Regions from separate parts of the Homo sapiens genome. Here all the other regions are linked to region 2. Evidence: promoter capture Hi-C in human tissues and cell types (Jung and others, 2019). All regions are on one chromosome and are shown on one strand. The core of a region is centred on a gene start or on the middle of the fragment in contact, and the rest is flanking DNA. Distances in the headings are between cores, read along the strand shown. Region 1 overlaps LOC100630923 (LOC100289561-PRKRIP1 readthrough). Region 2 holds the start of PLOD3 (procollagen-lysine,2-oxoglutarate 5-dioxygenase 3). Region 3 overlaps LOC100630923 (LOC100289561-PRKRIP1 readthrough).

What was found. The method cuts DNA at HindIII sites, captures the fragments that hold promoters and counts their contacts. A contact is called where the count stands out against the background at its distance.
Region 1: a contact is called between a fragment that was not itself captured here and the fragment with the promoter of PLOD3 in region 2, in 1 of the 25 tissues and cell types used here (dorsolateral prefrontal cortex).
Region 3: a fragment that was not itself captured here is called in contact with the fragment with the promoter of PLOD3 in region 2 in 1 of the 25 tissues and cell types used here (dorsolateral prefrontal cortex).

Annotation. Positions count from the first base shown.
Region 1 is chr7:102,373,303-102,376,858 of GRCh38, reverse strand. It overlaps LOC100630923 (LOC100289561-PRKRIP1 readthrough), which reads right to left. Exons shown (of 9, transcript NR_038967.1): 3 at 910-1,036; 4 at 537-647. It also overlaps the pseudogene LOC100289561. Among named protein-coding and RNA genes, the nearest start is that of SPDYE6, 19 kb to the right of the region's middle. The HindIII fragment of the contact is 5,084 bases long and covers 1-3,556 here.
Region 2 is chr7:101,215,508-101,219,061 of GRCh38, reverse strand. It overlaps PLOD3 (procollagen-lysine,2-oxoglutarate 5-dioxygenase 3), which reads left to right and starts at 1,481. Exons shown (of 19, transcript NM_001084.5): 1 at 1,481-1,896; 2 at 2,276-2,367; 3 at 2,516-2,652; 4 at 2,736-2,899; 5 at 3,042-3,154. The coding sequence starts at 1,788. ZNHIT1 (zinc finger HIT-type containing 1) reads right to left here and starts at 897. Exons shown (of 5, transcript NM_006349.3): 1 at 845-897. The coding sequence starts at 866. RefSeq lists enhancers at 550-1,091, 1,185-1,304, 1,853-2,375 and silencers at 1,405-1,684, 1,825-1,874, 1,935-2,054. The HindIII fragment of the contact is 7,144 bases long and covers 610-3,554 here.
Region 3 is chr7:102,390,540-102,394,127 of GRCh38, reverse strand. The region is part of intron 4 of LOC100630923 (LOC100289561-PRKRIP1 readthrough); the gene reads right to left. Among named protein-coding and RNA genes, the nearest start is that of PRKRIP1, 4.0 kb to the left of the region's middle. The HindIII fragment of the contact is 6,252 bases long and covers 1-3,588 here.

The DNA of each region.
Region 1 (3,556 bases), core at 1,057-3,556, 1.2 Mb before region 2:
CCAGAAGTTCAAGACCAGCATGGCCAACATGGTGAAACCCAGTCTCTATTAAAAATACAAAAATTAGCCAGGCGTGGTGACATGTGCCTGTAATCCCAGCTACTCAGGAGGCTGAGGAAGGAGAATCGCTTGAACCTGAGAGATAGTGGTTGCAGTGAGCGAGAACATACCAGTGCACACCAGCCTGGGTGATAGAACAAGACTCTGTCTCCAAAAAACAAACAAACAAACAAACAAACAAAAAACTCACAACAATTCTCTAATGGCGAGGGAGTAAATAAGTGAGCGATAATGCTGGAGAAAGAGGAAGTGACTGGGTCCCCAGTACAGGTTAGAATGAAAAAATCCCTACCAATGTAAATCAAATGTAAAATCAACAAAAGAGTTCATGTATGTGGTATGTGTGTGGGAAGGAAAGTGATATTTGGGGGTTGGGAGGTGTTACTGAGGGTACCGAGTACATATAAACAACTCTTTAGTCACTCCCAAAGGTCGGGGATGAGTGTTTTTTAACATGTGATAATCTACTAACTTACCTGGACTATGTTGACATGGAAATTCACCTTCCATTATCCACGGCTCCTCTCCCTGCTCCACTTCCTTCACCTCCACTCCATGATGATGTTTGGCTTGGTGATAATCATACCCTGTTAATGGGAAAAGAAGAAGGACTTGGGCAAGCTGCTTGGCTTCAGAATCTCCAAAGTACAAGATGTTGCCACCTCATAAGCTGCATAACAGAAGTGCTCCATTTTTTACCTTATCAAAGTTAGAACCTTTCAATGAAGAATAATATAAACGCTCCAGCTAGTGCCCACAAGGAATTAAATGGTGTCATCACTTATTTCTTCAAACTCAAGGATAAAACCCCATTCAACTGAGAGCATTCAGAAAGCAAGCTATCCTCACCCACAGAAACTAGATGGCTGTAGTTCTCCAACATCACATCCCCGTATGCTATCTTCTCATCAGGGTCCAGTTGCTGCCACTCCTCCTGGGTGAAATCCACAGCCACATCTTTGAATGACACTGGCCCCTGTAATGGCAACATGATCAGAATTGGGAGATATGGAAAAGGGATAGGGGGATATCATTTTACAAAGCTCACTCGTAAAGTTAACCATGAACATTGTATACCTTATTTTATGTTACAGATTATGGAAGGGAAATCATATTGGAAATCATACAGGAAACATATATCCTTTGGGGATATATATATATAAAATATATATTACCCCACAAAAATAAAAACCCAAAACACAACTGAGCTCCTATTTTGCAACTGAACTGAGTTTTGGGGACATGAGATGAGTGAAACACCATGCCTGCTCTGAGAAAGCAGACAACCTAATAAGGAGATAAACATGTAAACAAACACAAGCATTTTACTCCTTGTCACTTCTTTGCTGCCAGGCCCTCCCCTTCTCCTGGACCTCTTCATGTTGGAGTGCCCACCACTCAGTTCCTGGTCTTCTTCTTCCTAACTCACTGCTCTGGGGCTCTCACCTAGTTTCAGCTCCTTGTTCTTTTGTCTTTTTTATTCTCATAGCCAGTGGCCTCTGGCTATCTGCATGGCTGAGTTTTATCTCAAACATCTCAATCTCACAGCAATAAATATTCATTAAATGAATGAATGCCCAAAGCTGTTATTAGAGTAATGCAGACAAGGTGCAGAATGATTTAACAAAAGAGGATCAAATTATTTTAACTTTATGCCATCAGTTAGGCTTCACAGACTCAGTTAACTTGAAGTCCTTAAAGATGAATTGTGTATTCTATGGGATGAAGGGGAAGAAGAATATGATGAGGTGTAAAAAGTACCAATGGCAAACATGAAGCAGCTTCAATTTTTAAGAGGTTGGGGCTGGGCATGGTGGCTCATGCCTATAGTCCTAGCACTTTGGGAGGCCGAGATGGGAGGATCATTTGAGCTCAGGAGTTCGAGGCCACGTTGGGCAACATAGTAAGAACCTCATCTCTACTAAAAATAAAATTTTTTTTAAAAATTGGCTGGGCATCATGGCACATGCCTGTAGTTCCAGCTACCTGGGAGGCTAAGGCAGGAGGATGGCTTGAGCCTGGGAGGTCAAGGCTGCAGTGAGCTGTAAATGCGACACTGCACTCCATCCTAGGCAACAGAGCGAGACCTTGTCTCAAGAAAAAAAAAAGAAAAATGCAAAACTCCTGGGCTCCAGCAATCCACCTGCCTTGGCCTCCCAAAGTGTTGGGATTACAGTCTTGGGCCAGCATACCCTGCCCAAACTTGTAGTTTAGAAAAAGGAAGTGCCCAGTAAGCATGTTGCATTATCCTGTTATTTATAAAGAAGATATCAACAAGGGGTTCAAACCCAGTGATATAGCTAGGACAATGTAGATCCCAAGAGATAGCAGAGGCAGAGCCGCTAGGCTGGTGGGCTGAGAAACTAAAGCAGAACATCCAAGCTTATCCACAGGCAGGCCACAGGAGCTGATAAAATCACCGAGAGAGAGTAATAACCTTCTAGGTTAAGTTAGTCCAGAAGGCAAGGAGGTGGAGGGGTTAGAAGATGGATCAGCCAATAAATAACATAAAATTACATGCCAATACAATACCACTTATATCAATACAAATACCCAAAATGAAACATAACCAAACAAAATCCAGTACCAGATTAAAAACATAATATACAACAGACAAATAGGACTTATTCCAATAATATAGACTAGTTTAATATTTGGAAACCTATTAATATGATAGGCCACTATAACACAGCAAAGAAGAAAAATCTTGTATCCATGAAGATACTTGAAAAAGCTTGACAGAAAAACCTGATTTAAAAAAACAAACTAAAGAAAACAGAAACTGATGGATGCTTCATTAACATCAATATTATGTATATATACAAATATAAATATTACACCCTAATATGCAGTAGTACGTATGATATATATGTGACATATGTATTTCAATTACACACAAGCACATATATAGTTTGTGTATATACACACACACGCACATGCACGTGCACACACACACGCACACACATAAACTCTTATGCCTCAGTCTTCTTGGTCCAAAAGTCAGGATTTTACTTAACAGGGAAAAACTACATACCTTCCCATTAAGATCAAGAACAAGGTATTAATAAAATGCTCATTATCTACAACTAGAGAAGAGAAAACAATTAGAGGAATATAACTAAGGAAAAGTAAAAGTGCTCGGGCGGCCAGGCGCGGTGGCTCACGCCTGTAATCCCAGCACTTTGGGAGGCCAAGGCGGGCGGATCACGAGGTCAGGAGATCGAGACCATCCTGGCTAACACGGTGAAACCCCGTCTCTACTAAAAATACAAAAAATTAGCCGGGCATGGCGGCGGGTGCCTGTAGTCCCAGCTACTCGGGAAGCTGAGGCAGGAGAATGAAGGGAACCCAGGAGGCGGAGTTTGCAGTGAGCCGAGATTGTGCCAGTGCACTCCAGCCTGGGCGACGAGTGAGACTCCATCTCAAAAAAAAAAAAAAAAAAGTGCTCGGGCACGGTGGCTCACGCCTGTAATCCCAACACTTTGGGAGGCTGAGG
Region 2 (3,554 bases), core at 232-2,731:
TGTGTATAATGCCTTTCAAAATGTAACCTTTCCCCAGCCTTCGATCCTTTCTTATTACTCTGTAAGATCCAAACTGTGAACTTGGCTTCCTAAGCGACTTGCTTTTTCTTGCTTCACTGCCTTTGCACGTGAGGTTCCCACTGAGAGAAACCCTAACTAGACTTTCAAGACTCAATTCAAGCTTTTTCATTTTTCCTTCAAGCTTTCACAGTCCCCTGCCTCCCAGAACCTGGGCTAGATGCCACGTCTCCCTGTTCCCAGGCGCTGTGCTTCCCTCTGCCATAGCACAAATCACAAATCACAGTAAAATACAGTGTTAGGTCTGCGTTTCTGCCCCCCTTCCAGAAAAAGCCAATGCTTGGATAAGAGGGGTCTTTCTCCTCTTCATCCCCAGCGCCCGGCTTGGAGCAGGCACCAATAAAACGTGAATGAAGGGTCAACGCCAGGACCCGAGGGCTGAGGAAGGGATTTACGAGGAATAGCTGGGGCCGGGCGCGGCAGCTCACGCCTGTAATCCCAGCACTTTGGAAGGCCCACGCAGGAGGATCGCTTTGAGGCCAAGAGTTGGAGACCAACCTGGGCAACATAGCGAGAGCCCGTCACCACATAACAAATTAAAAATTAACCAGGCGTGGGGCCTCATGCTTGCAGTTCCAGCCACTCCGGAGGCTGAGGTGGGAGGATGGTTTGATCCCAGGAAATCGAGGCTGCAGTGAGCTATGACTATGCCACTGCACTCCAGCCTAGGCGAAAGAGCGAGACCAAAAAAGAGGAATGACTAGGTAAGAAAATTCTAGGACTGACTTGGGAAGGGGAAGGGGGCGAACCGCGGGGGCTCACATACCCGAAGTTTTCTTCTCCACCATTGGCACAACACAACTGTCGGAAGAAACTGCTGCGCACGCGTACTAACCCCAAGGCTTTAGTAGGGGCGCCATCACTTCCGGTAGCTTGTACTTCTGCGCGTGCGCCACAGCTTTGACTCATTACGTGGCGTTTCCTTGGAGACAAGAAAGCTTTTCGCCATGTTTTATAGGGGCAAAACCACTTCCGGCCTCAGTGTGGAGGTGTAAATCTTGTGGGAGCCACGAAATGGGTCATTTTAAAGATGTGGTCACGGTGTTCTTACAAGAAATCTTATTTTCCTTTGGTCCTTGTGAAGATGCTGTGATCACAAAGGCAGCCCCTGGAGCTTCTCCGGGCAGAAGAGGAGGTGGGCTGGACTGTCAAAGAAAGTGGCTGGCTTCCGTGGGCAATCCGAGGTTCCTAGTGGCCCTCTGCAGAAAGCTGAACTCCCAGTTCCCCCAGGCCTCCGTCCCGCGGCGGACTCCTAGGCTTCCTCCCTCCCTGTCGCCGCCAGCCTCTCGCTCTCCCCGTCTTCCGCCCGCACTCTCTGGGCAGGGCTGCGGCCAGGACCCGCCCCCGCGTCCCGCCCGACCCTCCGCCAGGGGTCACTTCCCCTGTCCAGGTTTCAGCTTCCACATGTGTCAAGCGGCTGGCTCAGCCCAGAGTCCCTGTCTCCCGCCCGCCGGCCCGAGCCGCCGCCCCTCCCCCGCCTCCCGTGCGCCCGGGACAATCCTCGCCTTGTCTGTGGCGCCGGCATCTGGAGCTTTCTGTAGCCTCCGGATACGCCTTTTTTTCAGGGCGTAGCCCCAGCCAAGCTGCTCCCCGCGGCGGCCGCACAGCAGCCCGAGCGCCCCCTTTCCAGAGCTCCCCTCCGGAGCTGGGATCCAGGCGCGTAGCGGAGATCCCAGGATCCTGGGTGCTGTCTGGGCCCGCTCCCCACCATGACCTCCTCGGGGCCTGGACCCCGGTTCCTGCTGCTGCTGCCGCTGCTGCTGCCCCCTGCGGCCTCAGCCTCCGACCGGCCCCGGGGCCGAGACCCGGTCAACCCAGGTGAGATCCCGGGGAGGCCCGGCACGGCCGAGGGGGCAGAGGCTGGCGTGCCTGCCAGCCTGGCCCGGAGAGGGTCGGAGGCTCGAGGAGGTGTCTGGCCCGTCCCCCGCCCAGCGTGCTCTTGAGGCTGAGTCGCGCCAAGCCCCTCGCCCATCACTACCCTGAACTGGGGTTTCCAGCCTCCCTATGCAAAGGGACTCGGAATTCCTGGGCACCACTCCCACCCTGCCCTCCTTGGGGTCAGAGTGTTCCTGGGTGAGAAGAGTTTAAGAATGGGAAGGAAGAAAGGGAGGGAAGTCGAGTGAGAGGGAGGACAGCAAAGCACGTGAGGCCCGGAGCTGGGCGGTGGATCTCAAGTGCCATTTCCCTCTGGTAACAGAGAAGCTGCTGGTGATCACTGTGGCCACAGCTGAAACCGAGGGGTACCTGCGTTTCCTGCGCTCTGCGGAGTTCTTCAACTACACTGTGCGGGTGAGGAGAGGGAAAGGCCCCTGGGAGGGGGTCCCAGCAGGAGGGGTGGGCTGAAGTCTGGATGCCCAGGTCCCCACGGTAAGCCTGGTCAGGAGTTCCCCCCACAACTCCCCACCCCTTGCCTGGCACGGGGCAATCTTCTCCACAGACCCTGGGCCTGGGAGAGGAGTGGCGAGGGGGTGATGTGGCTCGAACAGTTGGTGGAGGACAGAAGGTCCGGTGGTTAAAGAAGGAAATGGAGAAATACGCTGACCGGGAGGATATGATCATCATGTTTGTGGATAGGTAACGGGGCTGGGGATAGGGAGCGGGGTAAGGATGCTGAGGTTCCCAGTGGACCCCTGCCCATCCTCCCCTTCCTCACCCAGCTACGACGTGATTCTGGCCGGCAGCCCCACAGAGCTGCTGAAGAAGTTCGTCCAGAGTGGCAGCCGCCTGCTCTTCTCTGCAGAGAGCTTCTGCTGGCCCGAGTGGGGGCTGGCGGAGCAGTACCCTGAGGTGGGCACGGGGAAGCGCTTCCTCAATTCTGGTGGTGAGTGGCAGAGTGCCCAAGGCAGAGGGGCCAAGAGCGGTGGGACACAGAGTGTTAAAGGCGCCTGAGGGCTGGAGACAGCCTGGGGGACAGGCCCTGGGACCCTGGGAGTCTCGAGGTCAACACTCCCCCTCCCCGCCAGGATTCATCGGTTTTGCCACCACCATCCACCAAATCGTGCGCCAGTGGAAGTACAAGGATGATGACGACGACCAGCTGTTCTACACACGGCTCTACCTGGACCCAGGACTGAGGGTAGGGAAGGCAGAGGAGTGGGCGCATCCCGCAGCTCTGTGGGAGTGGAGGCCTCAGGCTGAATGGGATTTGGGGAGCAAAGGGGGTTGCAAAGAGAAAAATGTGTGCCTGGGCGTGGTGGCTCACGCCTGTCATCCAAGACTTTTGGGAGGCTTAGGCAGGAGGATTGCTTGAGTCCAGGAATTTAAGACCAGCCTGGACAACATAGTTGAGACCTCATCTCTACAAAAAAAAAGAAAGAAAAAATTAGCCAGGCTTCATGGTGTACGCCTGTAATCCCAGCTACTTGGGAGGCTGAGGTGGGACCATCACTTGAGCCCAGGAGTTTGAGGATGTTTTGCACCACTGCATTCCAGCCTGGGTGACAGAATGAGACTCTGTCTCTCACAAAAAAAGGAAA
Region 3 (3,588 bases), core at 706-3,205, 1.2 Mb before region 2:
CAGTGGGGAATTTTTTTTTTTTTTGTGAGACAGAGTGTTGCTCTGTCGCCAGGCTGGAGTGCAGTGGTGCGAACTCAGCTCACTGCACCTCCGTTTCCCAGGTTCAAGCAATTCTCCTGCCTCAGCCTCCCGAGTAGCTGGGACTACAGGTGCACGCCACCACGCCCGGCTAATTTTTTGTCTTTTAGTAGAGACAGGGTTTCACCATGTTGGCCAGGATGGTCTCAATCTCCTGACCTCATGGTTCGCCCGCCTCGGCCTCCCAAAGTGCTGGGATTACAGGCATAAGCCACTGCGCCTGGCTGGGAATTTTTTTTATTAGGCAAAGCATGGGAATTGACATCAGGGGTAGGGTATGCAGGCTGGGCTGGGCAAAGCACGTGAGGGTATGCAGGTCGCATATCTGGTTTTGAGGGTATGCAGGTCGCATATCTGGTTGCGATGGTTATCTTAAGTAATGAGTCACCTGGTAGTCTGGCTGGTGGCAACAAGGGTGTCAATCAATTGTTCAGCATTCCTTCCCGAGGTGGGACACTCCGCAAGCTTCATTTGATATTTGGATCTCCTAAGGCCAGTCTCTGGAATTCTTTTTTTTTTTTTTTTTTTTTTGAGACAGTTTCGTTCTTTATTTTCTTTGTATGACTAAAGCCTCGGGGTTAGCAGCTATATTGTCAGCGAGGCAATGGTGTGGGTTTTGTGATCAGTGGGACAAAAGAAGGAAAAAGGGAAAGGATGTGAAGGAGAAGCTCTGTCCAGTTCCTGTTCTGTTTCCCTGGGAGCTGGACAGACATTCACAGCTGGGTCTTGGTGTTCTCTTGTCAAACAAAAGTAATTTCCAGGACACCAACATCACACAAGACCATTCCGTGACCACAAAAACCTGGTGTGGTGGCTCATGCCTGTAATCCCAGCACTTTGGGAGGCCGAGGTGGGCAGATCACCTGAGGTCAGGAGTTTGAGACCAGCCTGGCCAACATGGTGAAACCCCGTCTCTACTAGAAATACAAAAAATAGCCAGGCGTGGTGGTGCACACCTGTAATCCCAGCTACTCGGGAGGCTGAGGCTGGAGAATTGCTTGAACCTGGGAGGCAGAGGTTGCAGTGAGCTAAGATTACGCCTTTGCACTCCAGCCTGGGCGACAGAGCAAGACTCTGTCTCAAAATAAATAAATAAATAAAAATAAAAATAAAAGAAACATTTGCTGGAGGGACATGGGCTCCTAGGGACAGGGTCGCCCTCCCACTGAGTCCCCAAGAGGATGAACAGGTGGACAAGTGGATGGTACCTGGAGGGTGAAGTGTTTGTTCTCCAAAGGTCATTCCTGGCTGCCCAATAGTGGGTGGTTTTCTAGGAGCTCAGGGTGGAATTAAGGGTCCTTAGTGGCCCAGGTCTGTCACTGGAACCTGGGGAGGGCTTGGCCTGGCTGGGGCCATGCACACAAACTCACCCAGGATCACACACATTAGCAACCAGTACCTCACTTTTCTCCAAACACTCCACAGAACGAAGGTTTTTGTCTACAAAACAAAGCATCTTTTCCTCCTTGGAGAACTCCCATACAGGCTTCTCAACTTGGCCAAAATGCTACCTCCTCCAAGAAGCCTTCTCAGATTGCCTCTCCCACCCCTCACTTCCAGGAAGTGAATTGCTCCCTTCTTGGTGCTCTCCCAGCTCTGAATCCCAATAACTGGTGAAGTAGTTACCACTATGTCCTCACCATCTGTGTCCCCATGGGCTTGGCAGTGTGGTGGGCTGGGCCAGAATCCCAGCATCTAACCCTGGCATGGTGTAGAGTGGGTACTTCCAGGATGCTTGGAGAATAAAGGAATGAAAACATATATGAAGACTGAATAGACGTGTCAGTGAGATGAGCAAGTGATGGATGAATGAATGAATAAGGACATTAAGAGAAAGAATGAAGACTCAATCAATAAAAGGACACTTAATAAATGAACATGTGAGGCCACGGACTATCAGAAAGCCACAGAGCCAGGAGTGCGGGGCAGTGTCTGTCCGGTTGGTAAAGGTCTCCCTGGCACCCCCAGCCTCAGTGTCTGTCACAGAGCTGGTGCTTGGCAGATATCTGCTGGATGAAAGTTAAGCGAATGAATGGAGTGAAGGAATGCATGAAGGCAAGAGAGAGTTAAGGCATGTGGGTGTGAAGGAGCTGGTAATAACTTCAGTGTCTAAGTCTGGTCTAAATTGTGGACATATTTATCAGCAGATATATGTTTTTCAATAGACGGGGTCTCACTCTGTCACCAGGCTGGAGTGCGGTGGTGCCAGTATAGCTAACTGCAGCCTCGAACTCCTGGGCTCAAGGGATCCTCCTGACTCAGTGTCCAGAAAAGCTAGGGCTACAGGCAGGTACCACTATGCCCAGCTAATTTTTCACATTTTTTGTAGACATGGGGTATTGCTATGTTTCCCAGGCTGACCTCAAGCAATTCTTCAGCCTTGGACTCCTGAGTAGCTATGACAACAGGCTGGTGCCACCACACTCAGCTAACTTTTTATTTTTATTTTTTGAGAGGGAGTTTCTCTCTTGTCACCCAGGCTGGAGTGCAATGGCGCGATCTCGGCTCACTGCAACCTCTGCCTCCCAGGTTCCAGCGATTCTCCTGCCTCAGCCTCCTGAGTAGCTGGGATTACAGGCACCCGCCACCATGCCCGGCTAATTTTTGTATTTTTAGTAGAGACAGGGTTTCGTCATGTTGGCCAGGCTGGCCCCGAACTCCTGATCTCAGGTGATCCACCCGCCTCAGCTTCCCAAAGTGCTGGGATTACAGGCGTGAGCCACCTTGCCCAGCCTAATATTTTATTTATTTATTTATTTATTTATTTATTTATTTATTTATTTGGTAGAGCTGGAGTCTTGCTATGTTGCCCAGGCTATCATCCTGATTCTACTGAAATGGAACTGAGGCCCAGAGGAGAAAGCAATTGGCTCAGGGCCACACAGACTCAAACCCAGCAGTCTAGCCCTGGGTCTGTGACAGCCTGAGTGATTATGTGACTCACACAGATGGGACAGGGCCCCAGCAGACCCTGGCGGGAACCCTGGTGGCACCCTCCTAGGTGGCACCTTCCTGGTGGCACCTTCCTGGGGCTGAGGTCAGATTTGAGGTCCGGCTCCCTGGGATGAAAGGCCGCCTCACAGATGCCCACAAGTCTCACACCCAGGGTGATGTCCCTTCTGCCACCAGAGGGCAGCAAATCCCCACCCAGGTCCCGCCACTAGGAGCCTTAATCCACCTTTCCTGAGATCCAGAACTGGGCACCCAGGGAGCAAGGTCTACTGGCTGGAAGATACCAGTGCGTTGCAGACTGGCAGACTGGGTGCCACCTACCCTGGGCTTGCACAAGCAACCTAACCTCTCTAAGGCTGTTTCCTTATGTGCAAAATTGGTACAAGCGAATCTACCTTGTCGCTGGCACATGGGTAAAATGACGTTTGGACATGCAGTGTCCAGCAGAGCCTGACATTCAATAACATGGCTCACGCCTGTAATACCAGCACTTTGGGAGGCTGAGGCAGGTGGATGATCTGAGGTCAGGAGTTCGAGACCAGCCTGGCCAACATGGTG